Linked DNA regions of Homo sapiens: regions 2 and 3 are each linked to region 1. The links are contacts of gene promoters, found by promoter capture Hi-C in human tissues and cell types (Jung and others, 2019). All regions are on one chromosome and are shown on one strand. Each heading gives the region's core, a stretch centred on a gene start or on the middle of the fragment in contact. The rest is flanking DNA. Distances are from core to core; before and after follow the strand shown.

What was found. Contacts are between HindIII fragments. The study calls those that stand out against the background at their distance.
Region 2: a fragment that was not itself captured here is called in contact with the fragment with the promoter of LUC7L in region 1 in 1 of the 25 tissues and cell types used here (spleen).
Region 3: a contact is called between the fragment with the promoter of DECR2 here and the fragment with the promoter of LUC7L in region 1, in 1 of the 25 tissues and cell types used here (dorsolateral prefrontal cortex).

The regions. Positions count from the first base shown.
Region 1 is chr16:228,038-231,623 of GRCh38, reverse strand. LUC7L (LUC7 like) reads left to right here and starts at 2,175. Exons shown (of 10, transcript NM_201412.3): 1 at 2,175-2,345. The coding sequence starts at 2,285. It also overlaps the pseudogene C4orf46P1. RefSeq lists an enhancer at 1,803-2,499 and a silencer at 2,332-2,561. The HindIII fragment of the contact is 19,974 bases long and covers 1-3,586 here.
Region 2 is chr16:71,094-74,344 of GRCh38, reverse strand. It overlaps RHBDF1 (rhomboid 5 homolog 1), which reads left to right and starts at 1,714. Exons shown (of 18, transcript NM_022450.5): 1 at 1,714-1,832. LOC124903617 (a long non-coding RNA gene) reads right to left here and starts at 1,518. Exons shown (of 2, transcript XR_007064932.1): 1 at 1,409-1,518. RefSeq lists enhancers at 1-682, 683-1,500, 3,137-3,251 and silencers at 1,655-1,714, 1,961-2,144. The HindIII fragment of the contact is 4,515 bases long and covers 1-3,251 here.
Region 3 is chr16:400,099-403,567 of GRCh38, reverse strand. DECR2 (2,4-dienoyl-CoA reductase 2) reads right to left here and starts at 1,683. Exons shown (of 9, transcript NM_020664.4): 1 at 1,525-1,683. The coding sequence starts at 1,604. It overlaps NME4 (NME/NM23 nucleoside diphosphate kinase 4), which reads right to left. Exons shown (of 5, transcript NM_005009.3): 5 at 2,814-3,349. The coding sequence ends at 3,226. RefSeq lists enhancers at 2,118-2,703, 2,551-2,860. The HindIII fragment of the contact is 11,138 bases long and covers 1-2,916 here.

The DNA of each region.
Region 1 (3,586 bases), core at 926-3,425:
GAAAAGCCAAGAAAACCAAGAAAAAATTCATTCTGAGTATATACAGAACTGCTGGACAGAGGTCATCCTATACGTGTGGTACACGTACAAATATGACATAAGAAGAAGTATGAATTATTGCAGTCATTATTAAACAACGAAGTATGCCAAATTAGTCATCAGGTTTCAAAGAATCATAGCCTTCTTTCCATAGGTCCCGCCACGTTTTAAGGAAACGTGCCTTTTCTGTACATTTGAAGGCAAGTTCTTCCACTTGAGCTGATACTGCAGATGTGGCTTCAAGAAGTTTGGTTAATGAAAAGGCTGCGTCTCCGATCTGCAGCCCCACTTCCTCCAGCGGGTCCACCGTTCGGCCGCTGCTCCTGCTCGGAACTGGCCAGCCCAAACTCACTGGGCTGCCAGGGTAAGATGCTGCAGAGGCGTCTGAAGAGGAGGGAGAAGGAGGCGGCGGGGGCGGCGAAGAAACCTGCAACTTCTCAGGGTCGGCCATGGGGAAGGGCTGGCACCGCGGAATCCGACCCGAGCAGCCCAACGGACACCCTATTTATTTATTTTAAATAGAGAGCAGGGGCCTGGCGTTCTGGCTCACAGCTGTAATCCGAGGACTTTGGGAGGCTGAGGTGGGCGGATCACCTGAGGTTAGGAGTTTAAGACCAGCCTGGCCAACATGGCGGAACCCCGTCTCTGCAAAAGTACAAAAAAAAAGTTAGTCGGGAATGATGGCGGGTGCCTGTAATCCCAGCTACTGGGGAGACTGAGACAAGAGAATCGCTTGAACCCAGGAGTCAGAGGATGCAGGAAGCCGAGATCGCGCCACTGCACTCCAGGCTGGGCGACAGAGGGAGACTCCGTCTCAAAAATAAATAAAATACGGCAGGGCGCGGTGGCTCACGCCTGTAATCTCAGCACTTTGGGAGGCCGAGGCAGGCAGATCACAAGGTCAGAAGTTCAAGACCAGCCTGGCCAATACGGTACAACACCGTGTCTACCGAAAATACAAAAATCAGCTGGGCATGGTGGCTGGCTACTTGAGGTCAAGACTTTGAGACCAGCCTGGCCAGCATGGTGAAACCCCGTCTCTACTTAACATTCAAAAATTAGCCGGAGGGGGTGGCGGGCGCCTGAAATTCCAGCTACTGGGGAGACTGAGGCAGGAGAATCGCTTCAACCCGGGAGGCGGAGCTTACAGTGAGCCGAGATCGCGCCACAGCATTCCAGCCTGGGTGACAGAGCAAGACTCCGTCTCAAAAAAAAAATAAACAAATAAAAAATAAAGACCGGGCGTGGTGGCTCATGCCTGTAATCCCAGCACTTTGGGAGGTTGAGGCAGGAGAATCGCTTGAACCCAGGAGGCGGAGGTTGCGGAGAGCCAAGATCGCGCCATTGCACTCTAGCCTGGGCGAAACTCCGTCTCAAAAATAAATAAATAAATAATAGAGGTTTAATATAATAGAAGTATATGCCAGACTATGCACACATAAGTGCATGCTATAATTCTATTATCACATAAAATAACTGCTTACATATGCCTTTTCTTTAGTCCCTGGGACAGTAGACCATGAGCTCACAAAAGGACGACCACGAGGTTGTAATCATAGAACCTAATATTAATGCCATGACTGATGGCCAAACGTGGTGGTTCACACCAGTAATCCCAATACTTTGCCGGGCTGAGGCGGGAGGATAAGGAGCCGGGGAGGTCGAGGCTGCAGTGAGCGGTAATCGCGCCACTGCATTCCAGCCTGGGCGACGGAGCAAGACCCTCGCTCTAAATAAATAAATAAATAAATAAATAAAATTCCATGCTTTATTTAACTTTCACAAAAATCATATGAGGGGCACCTTTAGAACCCTCATTTCACAGATTTAAAAAAACGAGCGTCGGGGAGCTAAATAATATGCTCACGGTTTCATGGCTAGCTTAGAAAAAGCACGGATTCATCTTGTTTTTGATTGACTGTATTTCATTTTATTGTAGTTTACCCTCCGTAGAGACTCGTTTGAGGTCCTGGGGGTCTAGAGTAAAATCAGGGTTGGGATTTTGGTTCCGCCGTTGGACAACTTGCGACCACTCAGAGCCTCAGCCTCCCTAAGCACCCACCCCAGAAACTACATTTCCCAGCAGGGCGTGCGCCGGCGCCGTCGTACTTCCTCCCGGCGTCCCCCGCGGCGGGAAAGAGCCGAGTGGGCTCGAGGCCGACGCGACCATCGTTTGTCGACGCCGCTGCCACCGCCTGCCTGAGAGAAGTCGTCGCGGCCGACCCCGTCGCCTCCGCCGGCTACCATGTCCGCCCAGGCGCAGATGCGGGCCCTGCTGGACCAGCTCATGGGCACGGCTCGGGACGGTGAGTCAGAGCGGCCAACCAGGCGAGGGTCTGGGGTGGGAGTGAGGCGAGGCCGCCGGGCGGCCTGAGGCGGGGGCCGCGATCGTCTGCGCCTGCGCCTGCGCGGGGCATCGCTCCTCCTCCCCCGCGCTCCGACCGCAGGCGCCGGGCCTTTGTCTAAGCCGGTGCGTCTCTGAGGCGGCCGTGGGTCCAGGTCGGGCTCCTCTCTCGGAGTCTGCGCCATGGATGGGGCTTCAGCCTCCTTCCTATGTACCGTCCTGCTACTTCCTCCCCGGCGGGCGCCGCGGCTCCGTGCCCCTCCGCGAACTGTGGAGTCGGCGGAGGGCTGGAATCAGCGTGGGCTCCAGGTCGCTGGCAGCCGGGTGGCAGAACTCTTCCGAGGCTCCTTGGGAAGAAGCTACACCCGAGGGAGCCGGATGGGCCTCGAAAACCTGGCCCGCTCTGGTTCTGTACCATTGCAAGGGGAACCGTAAACTGAGCTTTTCTAACGTGGGTTTCTGCCAAGTACTTTTCCAGCTGCCCCCTTCCCCCCAGCACACAGGAGAGCCTCTGTGTAGCCAGCGCTTGACAGTCGTTAGGTAGGTTGTACTGTGTAGGGAGGAGCTCAAGATCATGATGGTTGTCACAGGAGAAAGCGGTTGCATCTTTGCAAAACTATATACCTGCTGTGGTTTGTGTTTTCTTTTCTGCTGAGTAATGAAGTTGTAAGTTCACACTGGCACATTCTCAGGGCTGTGCAGATTATTTGCACTTTATTTCATAGGTGAATAAGTGCTTTTTAGCTTTCTTTGTATATTGAGTTGCTTTTGAATTGCTTCCCATATTTTTATTTCATACAAACTGAACAATTGTGGCCCCTCTATTTTATTTATAAAGGTTCAGTGTATCTTTGCCTGCCTACATCAATCTGCAAGGGAGTTGCAGAAAGCCTCATGTTCATCGAGCCGTGAGTCACAACCAATTTCTAAGCTGTTATAACAAAAAAGTGTTTGCTTTTTTTCACAAGTAACTTTAAAAGTGTAGTTTAGAAAGAAAACATTTTCAATAAAAAGACACTACATTAATCCTGGATGCTTGCAAATCCTAAAATATATTCCTCCTCTAGCGTTGCACAGCTCTGTGTTGTATACACAGACTAGCTTTAAAATTTGTCACATACCACTTTACCTTTACTTTTATGTATCATTCCCCCGACTTCCTTACTGCAGGTGTGGGCAAGAAAACTTTTCCTTTAACACTTT
Region 2 (3,251 bases), core at 461-2,960, 160 kb after region 1:
GGAGGCAAGCCCAGTCCCCAGCTTTCCAGAGAGGACACCACTTCTGGCCCTGCCAGCCTAGTCTGGGCATCCAGGCCCGATAGGGCTTGCTTATCCCTGGCAGGTCAATAATGCTAAGCATGGAGACTGTCCTGTCTCTGGCTGTGAGCCTGGCATGGGAGGGGTGGCACGTGCAGGCTATCGGAGCACTGAGTGTTGGCACTGGGGCAGGCTCCCTCTCACCCGGTGTCCGTGATGCACTGGCAGTCATCCCCTGGTGGAGTTACCCTCCACCCCCTCCAAAGCTTCCATTGTCTCCTTCTACATGAGAATTGTGTTGATATTGCTTGTGTTCAGAGAGCACCCATTATGTGCAGGCACCGCCCTATCCCGTGGCATGGACAAGGATATGGGCAGGGGAATCTTGCCCAGGCTCTGGGATCTACCGGTAAGTGTACCAGCACCTTTAGTTCAAATTCTCCCCTTTTCTGTCTAGCCAAGGAGCAGGCCATTGTCTGCGTCGGGCCCTCAAGTGCAACAGCTCAGTTTGGAGAGGGCTGGTGCCACCCAGACCCAGAGGATGGCACTGAAGCAGCAGCACCTTGTGACCAGCACAGGGCCTGAAGACACATTTGTCCGAGGCATGGGGGGGCACCCTGTAGAGGGGTCCTTAGGGACCCATGGGACGAAGGGATCCCTGCACCCTCTATCCAGAGGAAGCCTTGGCCACCCACCACTCAGAGCTCCTGGACAGCCCTGCCCGTACTCTGCTGTTGGCACCCCTGTCCCCCACCCTGGGAGGGTCAGCCCACCCAGTGTCAGGAGAGAAATGCTGGGAAACTCTCACCAGCAGCCCCAGCGGAAAGCAGAGTGCCATTTTGAGTCCAGCCCAGATTGTGCAGGGATATGAGCCCACCCCGGGGTGGCCGCTGAGCTCTGAGACAGTGAGAAGAGCCCAGAGTGGACACCAGACACTGCGCTGCCTCTGCTGAGTGGCTTCGGGTGGGGCCGGTGCAGCCTGGCCTGAGTGCCTGCTGGTGGAGCGGGGCTTCTGGGGGTAGGGGCACAGGGCAGGGGGAGGGGTAATGACTGTGGTCCTGAACTGAGTGTGTGCATCGGTGTGTACACGTGTGTGTGTGCACGTGTATGTACCCATGAAAGATGTACATGAGTAGGTGGGTGCATGTGAGCACGTGCATGTGCAGGCGAATGAACGCATGAAGTGGAAGGATGTGGGGACGTGTGTGTATGATTGTGAGTGATCGGTGCACATGAATGTGTGTGAGGGAATGTGAGTGCTTAGTGGGATTGGGTGAGTGTGGGATACAGGACTTGTCAGCGTGGGCCTCTGGAGGAGGTCGGGTTTAGGGGAGCCAGGGATACACACCCATCCTCCGCCCTTTACCCCGTGCCTGCTCTCCCTCCTCACCCTCTTCTCAGCACAAATCAGGGCAGGACAGCTCAAGCCTCAATCTGGAGCCAGGGAGAGGCGGAGCCGCCCAGCGCTGACACTGCGGTCCGCTCCCACCAGGTCCTCCGTCGGGCCGAGGCGCTGGAGACCCCAGCCCCAGGTGTCCCCGCAGGCGGACCCTGGGGAGAAGGGAGCCCGGCGGCCTTCCGGGAGGAGGTGACTTGGGCCGGGCAGGCGGGCGGCGCGCATTCCTGAGCTCTGAGTCAGCGCGACCGCCCCGCTCCGGCCGGGCCCGCCCCCGGGCGCACGCCCCTCGCTCCAGGGCATTCCCGGGCGGGCCGGACCGGCGGGCGGGCGGGGACTCGGCGCGGGCCCTCCCGGCCAGCGGCGGCAGCCTCCTCCCCGGCGCCCTCAGGACCCCCCAGAGCCCCCGGCGGCGGCAGTGAGTGAGCGCGGCCGGGAGCGCAGGGCTCCGGGGGCGGGCGGGTTCCGGGGCTGCGTCCGGAGGGCGGGGCGAGTCCTCAGCACCCGGGGCCGGAGCTGCTCAGAGCGGCCGGGGCCGTGTCGGGGCCGGGGCCGGGGCCGGGGAGGGGTCGCGGCGAGGCCCCCCCGGGGCGGCCGGGCTTTTCTTCCTGGAGTTTCCCGAGTCGCCCGCGGAGGCGGCCCAGCCCCGGATTCCTAGCCCGGCGCGCCGCAAAAATAGCCCGTGGCCGGATTAGCAGCCCCAGCGGCCTGGCCGGGCGGGACAGCTCGGCTCCAGCCCCCGCCCAACAGCTGAGGGTCCCAGGAGCGGGAGTCTAGAGTCCGGGGGTGCCCCAGGTTCCTCTGAACTCCCCCCGCTGCATTTTCCTTCCCGGCCACGACCGGCGGGTGGTGTCTCCGAGCTGAAACTCCAGCCCAGGGCGGGATGGTCCCTGTCCCGGCTGCCCTCACCGATGGGAATAGCAGGAGCCGTGGAGCTGGGGGTGGGGGACTGACTCCGCCTTCTGCCCCACGACACTGACTCCCCCATCTGTACACTTCGAAGCTCCAGGGTGGGCTGGGAGCGACTCCCGAAGACAGACTCTCACTCTGTGCGCAGAGGCCAACGGGGACAGGCCTTCTCCCGGCTGGGGTGACAGCCAGACCCCAGATGCTCAGGGCATTGGCAGAGGGCCTGGTTGTCTGTCATGCTGGGGGCATGTTTGTGGGGCTGGGCGGGGAATGGGCAGGGGATCTTCCCTGGCCCCCCAGGGCCTGCTTCCGACCGAGGTGGTCCTGACCAGAGTTTCTTCTGTGTGTGCCGCTTGAGATGGTGAATGTGTGTGTCTGTCCCGGTGGGTGGGGCCTAGGTCTGGAGGCCCTTCTCCTATCCTGGGAACTCCCACCCGCCAACGGGACTTCCTGTTGGAGACCGGGAGAAGATTCAAGGATGAAACTGGCTTTTCAGGTTTGACCCAGCTAGATGCCTGGGCAGTCCCAGGCTCGGTTCTCCTCACCCCTGTGGAGCTAACCCCAACCTCCTAGCCCCGACCCCAAGGGTGGGCAGAAGCTGGGGACCAAGCAGCTGGCTGGGGCTCAAGGGGTCCCTGAGGCGGAGCCCCCTGCCACCAGGGGTCATTCTGGGCAAGCCGGGCCCCTTTTCCTGAGAATGGGGCAGGGGCAAATGGAGTGCATGGGAGTCTGGTGGTGCCAGATTGAAGGGGCCTCAGACCCTTTCCCAGCCCTTCCAAGTAGCTTTCACTGGCTGGGTGGCCTCCGTTGCACAAGCAGGCCCCTCAACCAGCACCCCTCATGAGCTGGCCGGTCCCCACCTTGGGGAGCTGACTTTCTAGGGTGCGCTCTTGGTTTAGGGGGAGTCGTCCAGGTCTCCCCTGCCTTT
Region 3 (3,469 bases), core at 434-2,933, 170 kb before region 1:
CTTAAACAAGATAGAGGTTATAATTTCCTCTCTCCTAAGCCCTGCATGGCACTAATATCAAATATGATACCTGAGATTCAGCAAGCTACGTCGGGATAATATGGCTTTTTTATTTATTAGAGATTTTCTTGTACGCATTAAATGTGTACTGATCGGTATGACTGGCACAAACTGTACCAGATGGATGGCAAACTTTTGCTGATCTCCAAGTTGCCTTTCCTATTCTTAATTATTAAAGATTAATTTTGGGCCAGGTGCAGCGTCTCACTCCTGTCATCCCAGCACTTTGGGAGGCCGAGGCAGGTGGATCATCTGAGGTCAGGAGTTCCAGACCAGCCTGACCAACATGGTGACACTCACCTCTACTAGAAATACAATTAGCCCAGCGTGGTATTGTGTGCCTATAGTCCCACTTGGGCGCACTGAGGCTGAAGCAGGAGAATTGGGAGGCTGAGGCAGGAGAATTGCTTCAACCCAGAATGAGACTCCGTTTCGAAAAAAAACTTTTTTTTTTTCCTGCAGAACACTCAGAGAGAATTGTCAATACCTGTCCTTGGAGAACATAATTTAAAACTTGTTTTCTTTTTTTGAGATGGAGTTTCACTCTTGTTGCCCAGTGCAATGGTGCGATCTCGGCTCACTGCAACCTCCACCTCCCGAGTTCAAGTGATTCTCCTGCCTCAGCCTCCCAAGTAGTTGGGATTACAGGTGTGCGCCACCACACCCGGCTAATTTTTTGTATTTTTAGCAGAGACGGGGTTTCACCATGTTGGCCAGGCTGGTCTCGAACTCCTGACCTCTGGTGATCTACCCGCTTCGGCCTCCCAAAGAGCTGGGATTACAGGCGTGAGCCACTGCTCCTGGCAAAAGATCAAAATTTTAATAGAAACTTGAAAATGTTGCCAATTGAAAAAAAGAAAAGGAAAAAAAAAAAAGGATCCGCCCATTAGCCGAGTGAGGGCAGGTGACCGGGGAGGATCGACCTTTGCCCGGGCTGCCTTCTCTTGTGAACACCAAGGCGTTTGCAGGAAAATGAAGAGCTGCTGGGCAAAACCTGGCATTCCTGGGCCTTCTGGGTCTTCCGGAAAAATGATTTCAACCTAAAATTTTCTGTTAAGAAAGAGGCCAGGTTGGGCCGGGCGCGGTGGCTCACGCCTGTAAATCCCAGCACTTTGGGAAGCCGAGGCGGGTGGATCACCTGAGGTCAGGAGTTCGAAAAGAGCCTGACCAACACGGTGACACCCCCTCTCTACTAAAAATAAAAATTAGCCGGGCTGAGGCAGGAGAATCGCTTGAACCCGGGAGGCAGAGTTTGCAGTGAGCGGAGATCGTGCCACTGCACTCCAGCCTGGGCGACACAGCGAGATTCCGTCTCAAAAAAAAAAAAAGAAAGAAAAAAGAAAGAAAGGAGCCAGGCAAGACAGGTTTCCTAACACGCGAGCCCTCGGGGACCACGTGGGGGCGCCGGCGCCCGCGGACCGGACCCCGCACCAAGGCTGCGCTCGCTTCCCAGGCCCCGCTCACCGCAGCAGGTCCGGGCAGAAGAGGTGGCGGTACGCGGGGAGACAGTCGTCCCCCTCCACGTCGGGCGGCGGCTGGGCCATGGCGCTCCCGTCGGGGACTGCGGGGACAACGGGCGGGAGCGGCCTCGGCCTCCAGGACCCGGCGCGCAGCTGCGAACTCGCCTGGAACCGGGAGCCCCGCCCCACTCCCCGGACGCCCCGCCCCTGCCCTGATTGCTTCCCGGAGGCCCCGCCCCTCCCCCGAATTCTCCCCGGAGGCCCCGCCCCCGCCCGCGGCCTGCTGGGACTGGAAGTCGGCGCGCGAGGCGCAGGCGCATTGCGGGGCCGGGGGCGCGGTTCCCGCGGCAGAAGCTCGGCGGTCTGCGGGTCTCCTCCCCGAGTCTTTTTCACAGGTATTCGGCGTCAGCGCCGCGTTCAGAGCCTCCAGGACTTGTGGGATACCCCTGGCTCCTGGGTCCAGGCCAGGCTCGCAGCCTCTGGGCTCCCCGTTCGCCTCCCCGTAAACACCATGGGGAGGGCCGGGGCCCAGGGAAGCGCGGCCAGCCCCGCGCCGCTTCCCAAAATGACCCGTTTTGAGGCCAATAAAGAAGGGTCCGGGGCCGGGCGCGGTGGCTCACGCCTGTAATCCCAACACTTTGGGAGGCCGAGGCGGGCGGATCACGAGGTCAGGAGTTCGAGACCATCCTGGACAACATGGCGAAACCCCCTCTTTACTAAAAATACAAAAATTAGCCGGGCATTGTGGCGGGTGCCTGTAGTTCCATCTACTCGGGAGGCTGAGGCAGGAGAATCGCTTGAACCCGGGAGGCGGAGGTTGCAGTGAGCCGAGATCGCGCCACTGCACTCTATCCTGGGCGACAGAGCGACACTCCGTTTCAAAAACAAAAACAAAAAAAAAAGGGTCCGTTACTTCTGTTCCGCGTGGGGGCCCGGGCGGGGCTATGCCGCGAACCCAGGACGGGGCGCCCCGCCCGCACCACTGTTGGAAGACGGGGGTCCGCGACGGCCACGGGGGAAAAACACGCAGGGCCGCTCCTGAGCTGAACACACCCGCGGGCCAGCGGCTTCAGGGGCGTGACAGAGCCGCCAGCGCTACAGTAATGGCTGCCAGGCCCTTTCTGCGCTGGTTGGCCTCAGCCCGCCGGCCCCTCTCTGCCCCTTCCCCGGGAAGGCAGCTTCTCCTTTGGCGGGATCACAGCACCGGCTCGCGCCTAGCTTGGGTTCTCCGGATTGCAGGCTGGTGGTCTCTGGACCCCTGCCTGGCTCATACATCCAACAACGTTATGGAACTGGGTGTGCAAAACTTCCTCTTTACTGTTCAACTCCTTACAACTTGCATAAAGGCGTCATTTCTACCTCAGAGCTGGGGGAAGTCATAATTAGTGTACCACCCATGTGCTGGGCACAGTGAATTTTAATGCCTCCCCTTTAGAGGAGAGGTTATGATAATGTGAAGACCCCCCCCCACCACAAAGGTTGTCCGGCACTTTGGTGCAAAAAGGATTGGTCCAATCTTGTGCTGGCTTGGGGTACAGAAAGGCACTGAAGTTGGTGGCTCAAACTCCTCTGGGCTGGGGTGGGGCAGAGGTGAACAGGGAAGTAAGTGGTTTGGGACAGGCAGGTTTGGATGTGGGCTTGGGTTCTTGCTGACGGAGGTAGTTGGTCCTGCGTGGGGGATGGGGTGGTAAGGGCAGCTTGAGCCTCAGGCTGGGTGGATGCTGCTGTGCTGGCCCCCGTCTGCCCAGCTCACCAGCTCACTGCTCTGGAACCACAGCTGGATCTCCCGCTGGGCCCCCTCCACGGAGTCGCTGGCGTGGATGACATTCCTGTGCCAGGACAGGAGCAATGTGAGGCTCAGGCTTCATGTGCACCCTGAGGAATCCCAGGGACCATCTGCTGCTCCCGTTGCCCTCTGTCTAGGGGAGCAAGCCTGTGACTGCAGACAG